Linked DNA regions of Homo sapiens: all the other regions are linked to region 2. The links are contacts of gene promoters, found by promoter capture Hi-C in blood cells and fetal thymus (Javierre and others, 2016). All regions are on one chromosome and are shown on one strand. The core of a region is centred on a gene start or on the middle of the fragment in contact, and the rest is flanking DNA. Distances in the headings are between cores, read along the strand shown.

What was found. The method cuts DNA at HindIII sites, captures the fragments that hold promoters and counts their contacts. A CHiCAGO score of 5 or more calls a contact.
Region 1: the fragment with the promoter of REPS2 here is called in contact with the fragment with the promoter of TXLNG in region 2 in 1 of 17 cell types (total B cells); the score reaches 5.2 in total B cells.
Region 3: a fragment that was not itself captured here is called in contact with the fragment with the promoter of TXLNG in region 2 in 1 of 17 cell types (total B cells); the score reaches 5.1 in total B cells.

Annotation. Positions count from the first base shown.
Region 1 is chrX:16,944,268-16,948,340 of GRCh38, reverse strand. REPS2 (RALBP1 associated Eps domain containing 2) reads right to left here and starts at 1,683. Exons shown (of 18, transcript NM_004726.3): 1 at 1,207-1,683. The coding sequence starts at 1,479. The HindIII fragment of the contact is 5,688 bases long and covers 280-4,073 here.
Region 2 is chrX:16,784,552-16,788,683 of GRCh38, reverse strand. It overlaps TXLNG (taxilin gamma), which reads right to left and starts at 2,218. Exons shown (of 10, transcript NM_018360.3): 1 at 2,095-2,218. The coding sequence starts at 2,196. It overlaps LOC124905250 (a long non-coding RNA gene), which reads left to right and starts at 2,418. Exons shown (of 2, transcript XR_007068398.1): 1 at 2,418-2,614; 2 at 2,721-3,024. RefSeq lists a silencer at 1,433-1,872 and enhancers at 1,919-2,651, 2,623-2,822. The HindIII fragment of the contact is 8,203 bases long and covers 1-4,132 here.
Region 3 is chrX:17,035,721-17,039,771 of GRCh38, reverse strand. The region is part of intron 5 of REPS2 (RALBP1 associated Eps domain containing 2); the gene reads right to left. Among named protein-coding and RNA genes, the nearest start is that of REPS2, 91 kb to the right of the region's middle. The HindIII fragment of the contact is 2,613 bases long and covers 1,227-3,839 here.

The DNA.
Region 1 (4,073 bases), core at 434-2,933, 160 kb before region 2:
GAATACTAGTTACAGTTTCAGAAATCCCAAATTCAAAAGGGTGAAAGATTACAAAGTGTCTAAAGTTATGCTCACAAACATATAGCAGTAAAAACACTCCAGCAGTATAAAACGCAGTCTTAAGCAATTTTTTTAAAAATACGTATGAACACAATGACATTGCAAGTGAACCATAAAACCCTCAGTTCTCCTTTGAAACTAGATTTTAAAATACCACTCGCCACTCTAAATATTCCATTGGTGTTAATAACATTCATACTATTGCTTTTAGGAAAAGCTTCATTTCACGTTTTGAACCTGATATTAACAGTCTTATCACCATGAAGTGCTGGTGACATGAAATGACAGACAAAGGCTTATCAAGTAGTCTTTCTCCAAGCTCCAAGGAAAGCACAAAACAAAAACAGCGTCTGGTATGTATCATCCCCTAGTACTTTTCCAAGTATAGAACAGCCAAAAGGTGGTAGCTATGACATCCCTTACCTTTCAATTCTATTTCAAGTCCAAGTAATGATAGATGGGAAACTACAGCTGTTTCCCATGGTGGACTTCTGAAGTCCACCTCTAATCTCAAATGGGAAATTTGGTTTTGACTTGACAAACGTCCTCTTGCAGTCCCGTGTCCCTGTTCTGCAACTTGTCATTAAGGTTTTCGATTTAATATTAATATTTAGAAATATGTTATGGGCAATTACATATAGTAGATACTTATATATTACAACTACATAGAGAGGACAACATTCAGCCCTGGGCCTCGAACCCTACGGACACACACACCCTTCAAGTTGAAATCCCAGCAAGGCACCCTGAGAACCCACTCAGGAGAGGGAGGGGCAGGAGCAGCGAGCAGAGGTTAAACCAGGCAGCAGCCAAAACAAACACCACTTCCAGAACAGGACAAACTTTGGGTCTGGGCGGCTGCAGAACCCCAGAAATGGCCGGGGGAGGGGAGAGAGTGTCAGACTGTCTCAGGGAAGGAAGATGGGGAGAGCGCACCCAGCACTGGGCGAGGAGCTGAGCTGCGAAGGAGGCTGGTGTCCCCCGGGGACAAGGGCGTCGCCGCCATCCCCGGCTGCAGAGTCCTCTCTCTCAGAACTGGCCGAGGCCTCCGGGTCCCTGGGGGCAGCCCTGTCGCCCCACTCGCAACCTCCGCCCCCGCACACACTGCCCCACAGACCCGCAGGGACAGGAGGCGGAGGGACCCACCTGGTGCAGCGTCTCGGCGGGCAGCTGCGATGCCCGAAACAGGTCAGCCACGGGGCCGGCGGCCGCAGTGGCCGTGCCGGGGGCGACTCTGGCGGCCTCGGGGGGCCCAGACCCGGGGCCCCCGCCCGCGGCGCCGGCACAGCGCGCGAAGAGCTCGGAGTAGCACTGCTGCTCGCCCTCGCTCAGCAGCAGCGGCGGCGGCCCGGAGCCACAGCCCCCGCCCGCCGCTGCCGCTGCCGCTGCCGCCGCCGCCGCCGCCGCTGCCGCCTCCATGGGGCCAGCAAGGGGGCGCGGCGGAGCCCTGTCCCTAGCTGGGGTGCTGCTGCGTCCGCCACAGCCACCGCCTCCTCGGCCTCAGCTGCCGCCGCCGCCGCCGCCGCCACCACCGCCGCCGCCACCACCACCCCCACGCCCCGCAGCTGCCGCGCGGCCGCTTCCTCCCGGCGCGCGCCGGCCCCACCCCCGGGCTTGAATGTTGTGCCTCAGCTGCGCGGCACATGGAGACAGGCGCGGCGCGGCCCAATCACAGCCTGAGATGTCACCCCGGCCCCGCCCCCGCCTCCCGCTTGCCCCGCCCAGCGCCAGGTAACTAACCCAGCGCGCCGCACGCCCTCCGCCCGTCACAGGCTCCGGTGCCCAGGAAGGCGGGCCCCGTGCCTTTCCAAGCCTACCCTGCAAGGGAGCGGAGCCTTTGGCCATCCGCCCTGGTTGGGAAGGGGGCATCTAGACCCAACTGGAGAGAAGCTCTTTTCGGGGAGCGGGGAAGGTTGTGTTGTTTTCTTGCTAGAAGGCTGGGGCAGGTGTGGTGCCCACACCACGCCATGCCCTTTCCAGAAAGGGACAAGGCATGGGAAATTAGGTTTCCTTTCTTCCATAGCAGTACTGCTTATGTCCTAAAGAGCCGGAAGACGCAGACGTCTGTACAAACAGGGTCCCACTGACCCCAGAGTGTTCAGGGTGGTATTGGAGTTAGGCCCCCTCGTCAGACATGGCTCAAACCAGGAGTTGAGACTTTATAAGGAATAACATCGGTTACTCGTAAATACTAGAGTAGTAAGAGTACAAAAAGACCCATTTTGCAGATCATTTCGTCCAAACCCTGCTTTTACAGATGAGGAAACTGCCATGTTCACCTTCATTCCTCCAAAACCAGTTGAATATCTCGTATGTAGCAGATTTATATGCTAGGGCCTGAAAATACAAACCTCAGTAACAGAGGATCCTCACTCTCCAAAGGAAGCACTTATTTTAGTAGTAAAACAGGCATTTTTTTTAGTACAAAACTTGTTCAAGCTCACACCAAAAATCAATGCGAAACCCCACATTTTTCCACCCCGGTCCATGTCCTCCTCTCTCTCTCCATTCCTCCCTATCCTAAAGCATACACACTATATTTTTCAAATGTGCTTGCTTCCCCCTGGCTAGTACTCTAACCACTTTTTTTTTTTTTTTTTTTTTTTGAGAAGGAGTTTCGCTCTTGTTGCCCAGGCTGTAGTTCAATGGCACAGTCTTGGCTCACTGCAACCTCCACCTCCCGGGTTCGAGCGATTATCCTGCCTCAGCCTCCCGAGTAGCTGGAATTACAGGCGCCTGCCACCACTCCTGGCTAATTTTTGTATTTTTAGTAGAGACGGGGTTTCACCATGTTTGTCAGGCTGGTCTCGAACTCCTGACCTCAGGTGATCCACCCCACCCCCACCCCCCCACCTCGGCCTCCCAAAGTGCTGGGATTACAGGCTTGAGCCACCACGCCTGGCCCTCTAGCCGCTTTTAAAAGAAAGTCCAGGCCGGGCGCGGTGGGTCATGCCTGTAATCCCAGCACTTTGGGAGGCCAAGGCAGGCAGATCACTTGAGTCCTGGAGTTCGAGACCAGCCTGGCCAACGTGGTGAAATCCCATCTCTACTAAAAATACAAAAACTAGCTGGGCCATGGTGGTGAGTGCCTGCAGTCCCAGCTACTTGGGAGGCTGAGGCAGGAGAATCACTTGAACCCAAGAGACAGAGGTTGCAGTGAGCCAAGATCACACCACTGCACTCCAGCCTGGGCAACAGAGCAAGACTCTGTCTCAAAGAGAGAGAGAGAAAGAGAGACCAGAAAAGAAGCCACTGGAAAAAAAGTCTGTCCCACCATTGCACTGGAAGTTCCAGCATCAGGCCCACATATCTGCATCTCTTTTCCAAAAATTCTCTTTTTAAATGTCATTTTTCCTGGGAAGACCTGCAGAAATATATGCATGAAGCCTCACTGGGAAACAATAACCCAAAAGAAAACATCAGTCTAGGGTTAAGCACTAATAAAAAATATATTTTACTACAAAGAAAACTACAAAACATTGATTTAAAAAATTGAAGAGGACACAAAAACATGGAAAGGCATCCCATGCTCATGGATTGGAAGAATTAATATTATTAAAATGACCATACTACCCAAAGAAATCTACAGATTCACTGTGATCCCTATCAAAATACCAATGACATTGTTCACAAAAATAGAAAAAACAATCCTAAAAATTGTATAAAACCACAAAAGACCCTGAATAGCCAAAGCAATCCTGAGCAAAAAGAACAAAGCTGGAGGCATCACACTACCTGACTTCAAAATATACTACAAAGCTATAGTAACCAAAACAGCATGGTACTGACATGAAAAGAGACACATAAACCAATAGAACAGACTGGAGAACCCAGAAATAAACCCACACATTTACAGCCAACTGACTTCCAACAAACCACCAAGGAAATACATTGGGAAAGGACAGTCTTTCCAATAAATGGTGCTGGGAAAACCAGATATCCATATGCAGAAGAATAAAACTAGACCTTTATGTCTCTCTCACCTATACAAAAATCAACTGAAGATGTATTAA
Region 2 (4,132 bases), core at 969-3,468:
AAAAAAAAAAAAAAAACACAACAAGTTTGTTTGTTTTTTTAAGAGACAGGGTCTCACTCTGCGGCCCAGGCTAGCCTCCTGCTTCAGTCTCCTGACTAGGTGGTACTACAGGTGCATGCCACCATAGCTGGCTTAAAAATGATTCTTGCAAACACAAGATAATTCACCCAATTTGTTAAATGAAAATTCAAAGATTAATATTTTACCATGTATTTGAATGCCGTCACTGTCAGTTAGAAATCAAAAAGAAAAAGATGCTCAGAAGAGCATAAGCAAAGAAGAATGGAGTATGAGGTACATAAACAAAAATGAGTAGACACACACATGACTATTCCTATCCAGCTGTTAACCAGAGCTCTGCACCTCAAAGGGTCATTACCTCCTATCTTGGTTATTTTAAATGCTAGTTGATTAAACCTCAGTTCCTAATTCAACGACTTTTTGTCCTTATCCCAGTGTCATAAAAGGGAACTTATATCCTCAATTGCAGTGGCTTTTTATCAGAGTCCTCCTCCCCTGGGGAACCTACGAAATCAAACACTGAGATTGGCACTCCACCCTTAGGGAATAAGTGAAGTGTCCAAAGTGATGGTGTTGAATCCCTTACAGGACATTGGTCCACAGCTTCTTTTTCAGTCCTGCAAGCACTGGATCTTTCTTTTAGAATACAAAGAGAGGGAGAGAAAGAAAGAGAGGTAATTGAGAAGTAGTAACACTGTCATGCAGAAACATGAAAATACCTGACCTTAGAAACAGGCCCCAAAAAGCTAATTCTTAACACTCTGCTCAGACGTAAACTGGACCTTTGTTCTCCCATTTGAAGTTTATGAATTGCATTAGAAAAATATTATTTCGTAATTTCATACAGGAGTTAAGAGTGTTCAAATACATAATTAAGTAATATTAAATAGCCCTCGGTGATCAAGCAAGATATCCAACAAGTCGAACGTTTCAGTATGTTCACCTGCAAGGAAAAAAAGAGATGGGGTTCCCACCTTCCCAGTCTCAGTCCCCGCAATTATCCATTCCAGGGCCCCGAAAACCCTGTACCCCGTTCGTTGTGCAATCTTTTTCAAACTCCACCCACTGAGCTCCAGAACAAGTGGAATTGTCCCGTTCTGAAAGAGGTCTCAATTTTCCTGTATCTAGGGAGGGACTGAAAACTCCTTGACGTGAGTCAAGTAAGGCAAGGGGAACAGTCCGGCCTGTTTCCCAGATTAAGAAAGACCCAAGGCCAGGGTCGGGAAGGCATTCAAGTTTCCACTCATCAAATTAAAAAAATAATAAATGAAAGAAAAAAAAGAGGGGAAAAAAGAGGAGGGTGGTAAATAGGACTGGGAGGACCAGCTATCATGCGATATCCCAACTCTGCAGGACCGAGGTCCTCCAGCATCGCCTCCCCATCCATCCCCGGCCCCACGTGCAGCCAAGCCCTCGGAGCCCCGGGGTCTAGGTCCCGGGGGCCGAGCGTCCCGCTCGCACCGGCCCTGCGACACTCACCCGCTCGCCTGCCCGCCCGCGCAGTGGCGGGGAGCGCAGGGGGGCGGGGGAAGGGGGGCCAAGCACACCCCGGCTCCCGCGCGGTTATCTTACTGCGCAACAGCCTAGCCTGAGCAGCCCGGGGGCACCCCGCAGCGCGCCCTGCGCACCTGCCCGACGCCAGGAGGGCGAGCCCACGACCCCAGCGAGCCCCCGGACGGCGGCGCTCAGCGCCGGGAGCACGGTGACGGCGGTGACTGGGAGAAGGAACGCCTGGCGCCCGGATCCCCGCGGTGCTGGCCGCACGTGGCTGTCACACCTGGCGCACCCCCGCCTCGCACCCCTTCTCCCTTAGAACCGCGTGCGCCCCCTGCCCTCCCTCCCGGCTTCCCCGCCGCGCGCCGCCAAACCCCAACCGTCGTCCCTTCCCACCCCATCCATCGCGGTCCCACCCCCCCCCACCTGCTCCCACTGTCGTCACCCCCGGGAGGGAAGAAGACCGGATGTTCGTCCCGTGGCTATAGGTAACCAGGGAGAGAGAAGAGGTGGACCCTGAAAAAGGGAGCCCAAACATCCCCCGGGCCCGACAACAACGAGGGCGTCCCCCTGACTGACCTTCTGCCGCGGGCTGCGTCGCCGTCCGCCCCGTCCGGCCTCAGTCGCCTCTTCGGCGCCGCCGCCTCTTCCCCGCGCTGCCTCCTCTACCCGCGTCGCCATGAGGTGACGGCAGCAGCCAAACAAGCGGCCCGACAAGGGGCACAGAATCTCGCAGGGCCTTTCGCCCCGCCCCCGAGCCCCCACGACCAATCGCCGCATGTGAGACTTCCCACGTGACCGGAGGAGGTTGGCCCCCGAGGGGACGGAGCGAGATGGGGATGGGGAGCATTGAATACTGGGCTGGGCTTCAGCAAGACCGAAGGGCAGATAGAGGCCGTGTGAGTCTGCGCGGATCGGGAATGGGACTCGGGAGTGGACTACAAGTCCCAGCAGGGCGTGCGGCCACAGCTCGCAGGCTCGGATCGGGATTGGGACATAAGGCGGCGTTCTGAAAAGGGGAGAGTGCTGCACCCAGTGTGCTTCGTGTGCATCCTAGTGGGACTTGCGGTTTCTGGGGGCGATGTCTGGCTATAGGAAGGTACTCGTTATGATCTTTCGCGGAAAGTTTAGAAATATCCCCGTGTTTGAGAAGGAGCACGATCGGCGACACATTCTTGTGTTTTTGTTTTTGTTGCCGTTCTTAGGAATTGGGCGCGAATGATTTGGGGATAAGGGAAAATACTTCACGACTTTCAAGACGGAAGGTGTATTGGCTCTTAGAATTTGAAGTTTCGTGCTCGGGCACCTGCCCCGAGCCCTGCCCCTCCACCAGAGTTGTTACCACGGTTTACTTGTCCCGAGCTCCCGCGGGATAGGTGCCGCATTCTATTCACCTTGGTTGAACCGCCCCGGCTTCTGCACACTTACTTGGCACTTCATTCATGTTGAATGTATCCTGCTTTCTCCCACCCCATTTACTCGTTTCATTACCTAAATTTTTTCAACAAACTCGGTTTGCTGAACCGAATTTTTTTTTTTATTGATATGATGTTGGGGGGGAGAGGGGAGATTTCCTCAGGAATATTCCCTATTTCCATCTGATGGAACCAGATCTCCAATGGCCGAGCTTCTGAAAGGCACAGACCATCATGAAATCCTGATATATTGTCTTAAATAATTCATTATGAGGCCGGGCGCGGTGGCTCACGCCTGTAATGCCAACACCTTGGGGGACCGAGGCGGGTGGATCACAAGGTCAGGAGTTCCAGACCAGCCTGGCCAACACAGTGAAACTCCGTCTCTACTAAAAATACAAAAATTAGCCGGGCATGGTGGTGGTGGTGGGCTTTTCTTTTTTCTTTGTTTTTGTTTTCCCAAGACGGAGTCTTGCTGTCACCCAAAGCTGGAGTGCAGTGGCACGATCTCAGCTCACTGCAACCTCCGCCTCCCAGGTTCAAGCAATTCTCCTGCCTCAGCCTCCCGAGTAGCTGGGATTGCAGGCACGTGCCACCACGCTGGGCTAATTTTTGTATTTTTAGTAGAGAGAGGGGTTTCACCATGTTGGCCAGGCTGGTCTTGAACTTCTGACCCCCTGATCTGCCCTCCTCGGCCTCCCAAAGTGCTGGGATTACAGGTGTGAGCAACCGCCCCCAGCCGGTGGTGGGCTTCTGTAATTCCAGCTATTTGGGATCTGAGACAGGAGAATCGCTTGAACCCGGGCAGCAGAGGTTGCAGTGAGCCAAGATCGTGCCATTGAACACTCCAGCCTGGGTGAGGAGAAACTCCATCACACACACACACACAAAAGTAAGTTATTCCTCAAAAAAAAATTTTTTTTTAGAGATGGGGCATTATGTTGCCCAGGCTGGTTTCAAATTTCATGATTTTCTATATTGTTTAAGTATGTATGGAATGAAAAAAATCAATAAAGTTATCTTTATTAAGGAAAGAGGCCGGCCACGGTGGCTCACGCCTGTAACCCCGGCACTTTGGGAGGCCGAGGCGGGCGGATCACCTGAGGTCAGAAGTTCAAGACCAGCCTGACCAACGTGGTGAAACCCGGTCTGTGCTAAAAATAGAATTAGCCAGGCGTGGTGACACGTGCCTGCAATCCCAG
Region 3 (4,051 bases), core at 1,284-3,783, 250 kb before region 2:
AAGGGAAGTAATTTACCAAGACCACACACCTATGGCACATGGTAGAGCCAGAATACAAACTGGGTCCAAAGTACGTACACTTGATCATCAAGCTCTATAGTTATCTCTATCTGTTCATCCATCCTGTAAAAATAGAGCATTTATTACAAAAAGAACCTCACTGCAATGCCTAAATCATTGCTGCAATTTTGCAGATTGAGGATCTGTGCTTGAGCTATGACTATGCTGTATTACACCTTCCTCCCCATCATCTAGTTTAGTTTTAGATTTTGGCTGGCGAACTATTAAATCATACTGACAGAGCACCATTTTATTTCTCACATAATTTTTGCAGGTAAGCATCTGGCACGTCATCACAAAAGAATCCTAGAGCTAGCCATACAATCCAGGTATGTAATCATTTTACTGTGATTGCAGTATGTGGCGCTAACAGTATTTTGATTAACATAAGAAATGCTCATTAGTAACCACTGCCTCCAATTCTCCCCTCAGGGGCCAAGATTTGCTGTTCCAGAAGGGCACTTTTCCTTCACTATTATCAGGATTTTGTGCTCTGCTTAGAGGAGAAAGCCAAGAAAAATGAGAAATCAGCAGTAAGAGGAGACTCTGACAAGGCTGCAGACTTCCATTAACGAAGCGATGACGTTCCCACCCCTGTCCTTGCTGGTCAGGCCAAGGCTGCCTGTCTCTTCACTACGTTCTCCCCTTCACACTCAAGGCAGTCTGAGTTCAGATGGGAAACAGATGCATCCACAACTTGGACAGAATTCAAGAATGCTTTGGAGAATGAGGCTACTGACTGGAGGTGCAAAAAGAGTACAGGTTCCAGAGGCAGACAGACTTGGGTTCCAATTTGGCATGGTCACTTACTAACCAGTAAATTAACTTCTGAGCCATCAGCTCCCACCTGCAAGGCAGTCACATAGCCCACAGGGCCCTGCCTCCCTCTCCGACCTCATCTCCCTCCCACTCCAGGCTCTAGCCACAGCTGCCTTCTTTCAGTTCTTCAAATGTATCTGCTCTCCCTGTGAAATATGGTAGAGACTGGGTCACGAGTCCATTCCACCCGTCAGCATAAGTCCCAGCACTGCACAAGCTGGCTAGCTAAAAACTCCACTGTCAAAACACCTTTGCTGCTAGAATTCCAAATAGGACTTAGGTTCCACTCAACAAATACACCCACGGAAGACGGATGCAGACCCAAGTTACAGGCAGGGAACAAAGCTTTCATTTGGCTGCCAAGGTAGTTTGTAGTGTGGATCTGGTTGGAGCTGACACTAGGGCAGCAGTTTCCCAATGCTGTAGCTTTCTGATTGTGACAGAAGCAAAGCTCTCTCAGCAGCCCAGCTCTGCTGTGCGGTTTTGGAGAGGCTCTTACCTCTACAGGAAACACTCCACTCCTCTCCTCACCTCCCAGGACCATCCTTCCTTAGCCTGGTTAACTTCTATTCATCCTTCACAGCTCAGCTCAACACATACTTTGTTAAAGGAGCCTTCTCTCACTTTCTAGCTATAGGCTGGATTCCTTTGCTACATGGTACCATGTTTTAAGGCCTTTAGGGCAATTGTCAGTTTTTAATTCCACATGCATAGGTGGGATCATTTGATTCAAATCTATCTCCTCCTTTTGACTGCAAGCACCTAGAGAGCAAGAGGCTATAGGTGTACTCCTCAGTGTACCCCTGGCATGGTGGCTGACTCATGGAAGCCACTTAAGTATTTCCAAATGGACAAATGGAAGATGTAATAATACCTACCTTGTGAGATTGTTGGGAGGACTGAAAAGGGCCAGCACAGCACTGGGACCAAAGAAGCACCTCAGTCAGTAGTGACTATTGTTGGGATAGGCAACTGGGGGGGCATGACACTCCCTGCTCGCCTGAGATCAAGGGAAAGACTGATGGGCCCAGGGGCTAAAATGGTGCCAGTTGTAAAGAAGTCTTCCATATCCATAGCCTGGCATATAACTGAGACCAAAAGGTCCTGGGGAATAAGCTACTATCCTTTCCAGATTTACAAAGTACTGCCTGGAACCAGCAGTTCAAACCAGTGTTTTCAGCTACCTCTGGGAGGCTAAATTAACTAAACATCTCTTTTATTGTCAAGAAGTGTGGTACACAGTGAGCACCTGAGGAATACACTAAGAAACAGGTAGAGGCCGGGCATGGTGGCTCACGCCTGTAATCCTAGTACTTTGGGAGGCCAAGGCGGGTGAATCACTTGAGGTCAGGAGTTCAAGACCACCCTGGCCAACATGGTGAAACCCCGTCTCTACTAAAAGAAATATATACAAAAAATAGCCAGGCGCAGTGGCGCACGCCTGTAGTCCCAGCTACTCAGGAAGCTGAGGCAGGAGAATTGCTGGAGCCTGGGAGGCAGAGGTTGTAGTCAGCCAAGATCGCGCCACTGCACTCCAGCCTGGGCAACAGAGCGAGACTCCATCTCAATCAATCAATCAATCAATCAATGAAAAGAAAAGGAAAAAAGAAAAAAGAAACAAGTAGAAAAGATTGGCACTGAGAAAATAAACTTCAGTATCAGTTGAGATTAAATGTTTCCTTCCCCAAAAGTTAAGAGCTAGAAATCCTTCCTCAAAAGTTAAGGGCTAGAAAATCAGAAAGAGAACTACAAGCAGGTGAAGAAAATAAGTAAGCAGGAGACTGGAGGCTATGAAAAAATAGGACCTCCTTGTGGCAATAGTGTCCGTTCAGGTATATGTGGGTTCTATAGTAGACTCAGTGAAGTAGGACACCTGGAGGACATGTTAACCTTTGACCCCTTAGGAGATGGTATAAACGTCCAGCTGGGGTCTCAAATGAAACGAGGAATGAATTTGGTGAAAGAAGATCTCAAGAATAAGGCACATACATACCTAGAAAAGGCATCAAACTCACTCTTCCTAACACACACACACACACACACTTATACTCTCTCCCTCTATCTATCTTTATCTCTACCTCTATCTCCTCCTCCCACCCATTTCAGTGAAAGGAACATAATTTAGCTGTCTAAGCAATGCTGAGAGATCAACGCACACACACAGTGTTGACATTTACCATCTCTAACAACAGAGGATTTTTTTTTAGCCCTAATCTCTACCCATAAACTAAGTAATTCAACTTTACTGTCATGACCTTATAAACAAGAAATCTGCACTGCAGGCAGGCCTGGGGTTCTCCAGAACTGGGAAGCAGCTGGGGTCCATAACCTCCTTCGAGAGCCTCAGGTGCCAGCATCTCCTCTCACCACTCAGGGAGAAATCTTCCACACACACTCCAGTATATCTCTGGTCCAAAGGAAAAGACAGACCAGCTTCTGGTTTCATGCCATTAAGAATGACAAACCAATACTCAAAAGAAAAAGGGGCACTTGATATGAATCAACAGTTCACAGAAAAGGAAATACAAGTGACTCATAAACTTAAGATATTTCACTTCACTAATAAAGAGATATGCTAATTAAACTACAGTGAGCTATCATTTTTCACCTATCAGATTGGCAAAGACCCATAAATTTGTTAGCACATTGTTTTCACAAAGGTACGAGAAAACAGACATTTTCATATATTGTTGGCAAGTACATAGGCTGCTATACCTCCAATTTGAAAGTCGTTATCAAAAATTACAAATATATAGGCATTTTCACCCAATAATTCAATTTCTAGGAATTGGTCTCCCATATATCTGCAAACAACGCAGTGATTGCAAGTACAAGATGTCAATCAAAAGGGGCTGGCTAAATGATTTACACAAGACGCAGACAAGGAAATACTATGCATCTGTAAAAAACAAAAAGATGAGGAAGTACTTTATGTGCTGCTATAGAACGTTAATAAAGCTTATTGTTAGTGCTAAATGCATGTTAGATGTATAGTATGCCACCATATGTGTAAAAAAGCATAACTGTGTTTTGCATATATTACATGTAATTATATATAATACCTATTTTCACTTGTATATAAAAAAGATATTCATATACAATATTATATAAATGTTTTGTATAGTACTATACAAAATAAATGGGTCATATCAGTTGCCCCTGGGATGAGTGG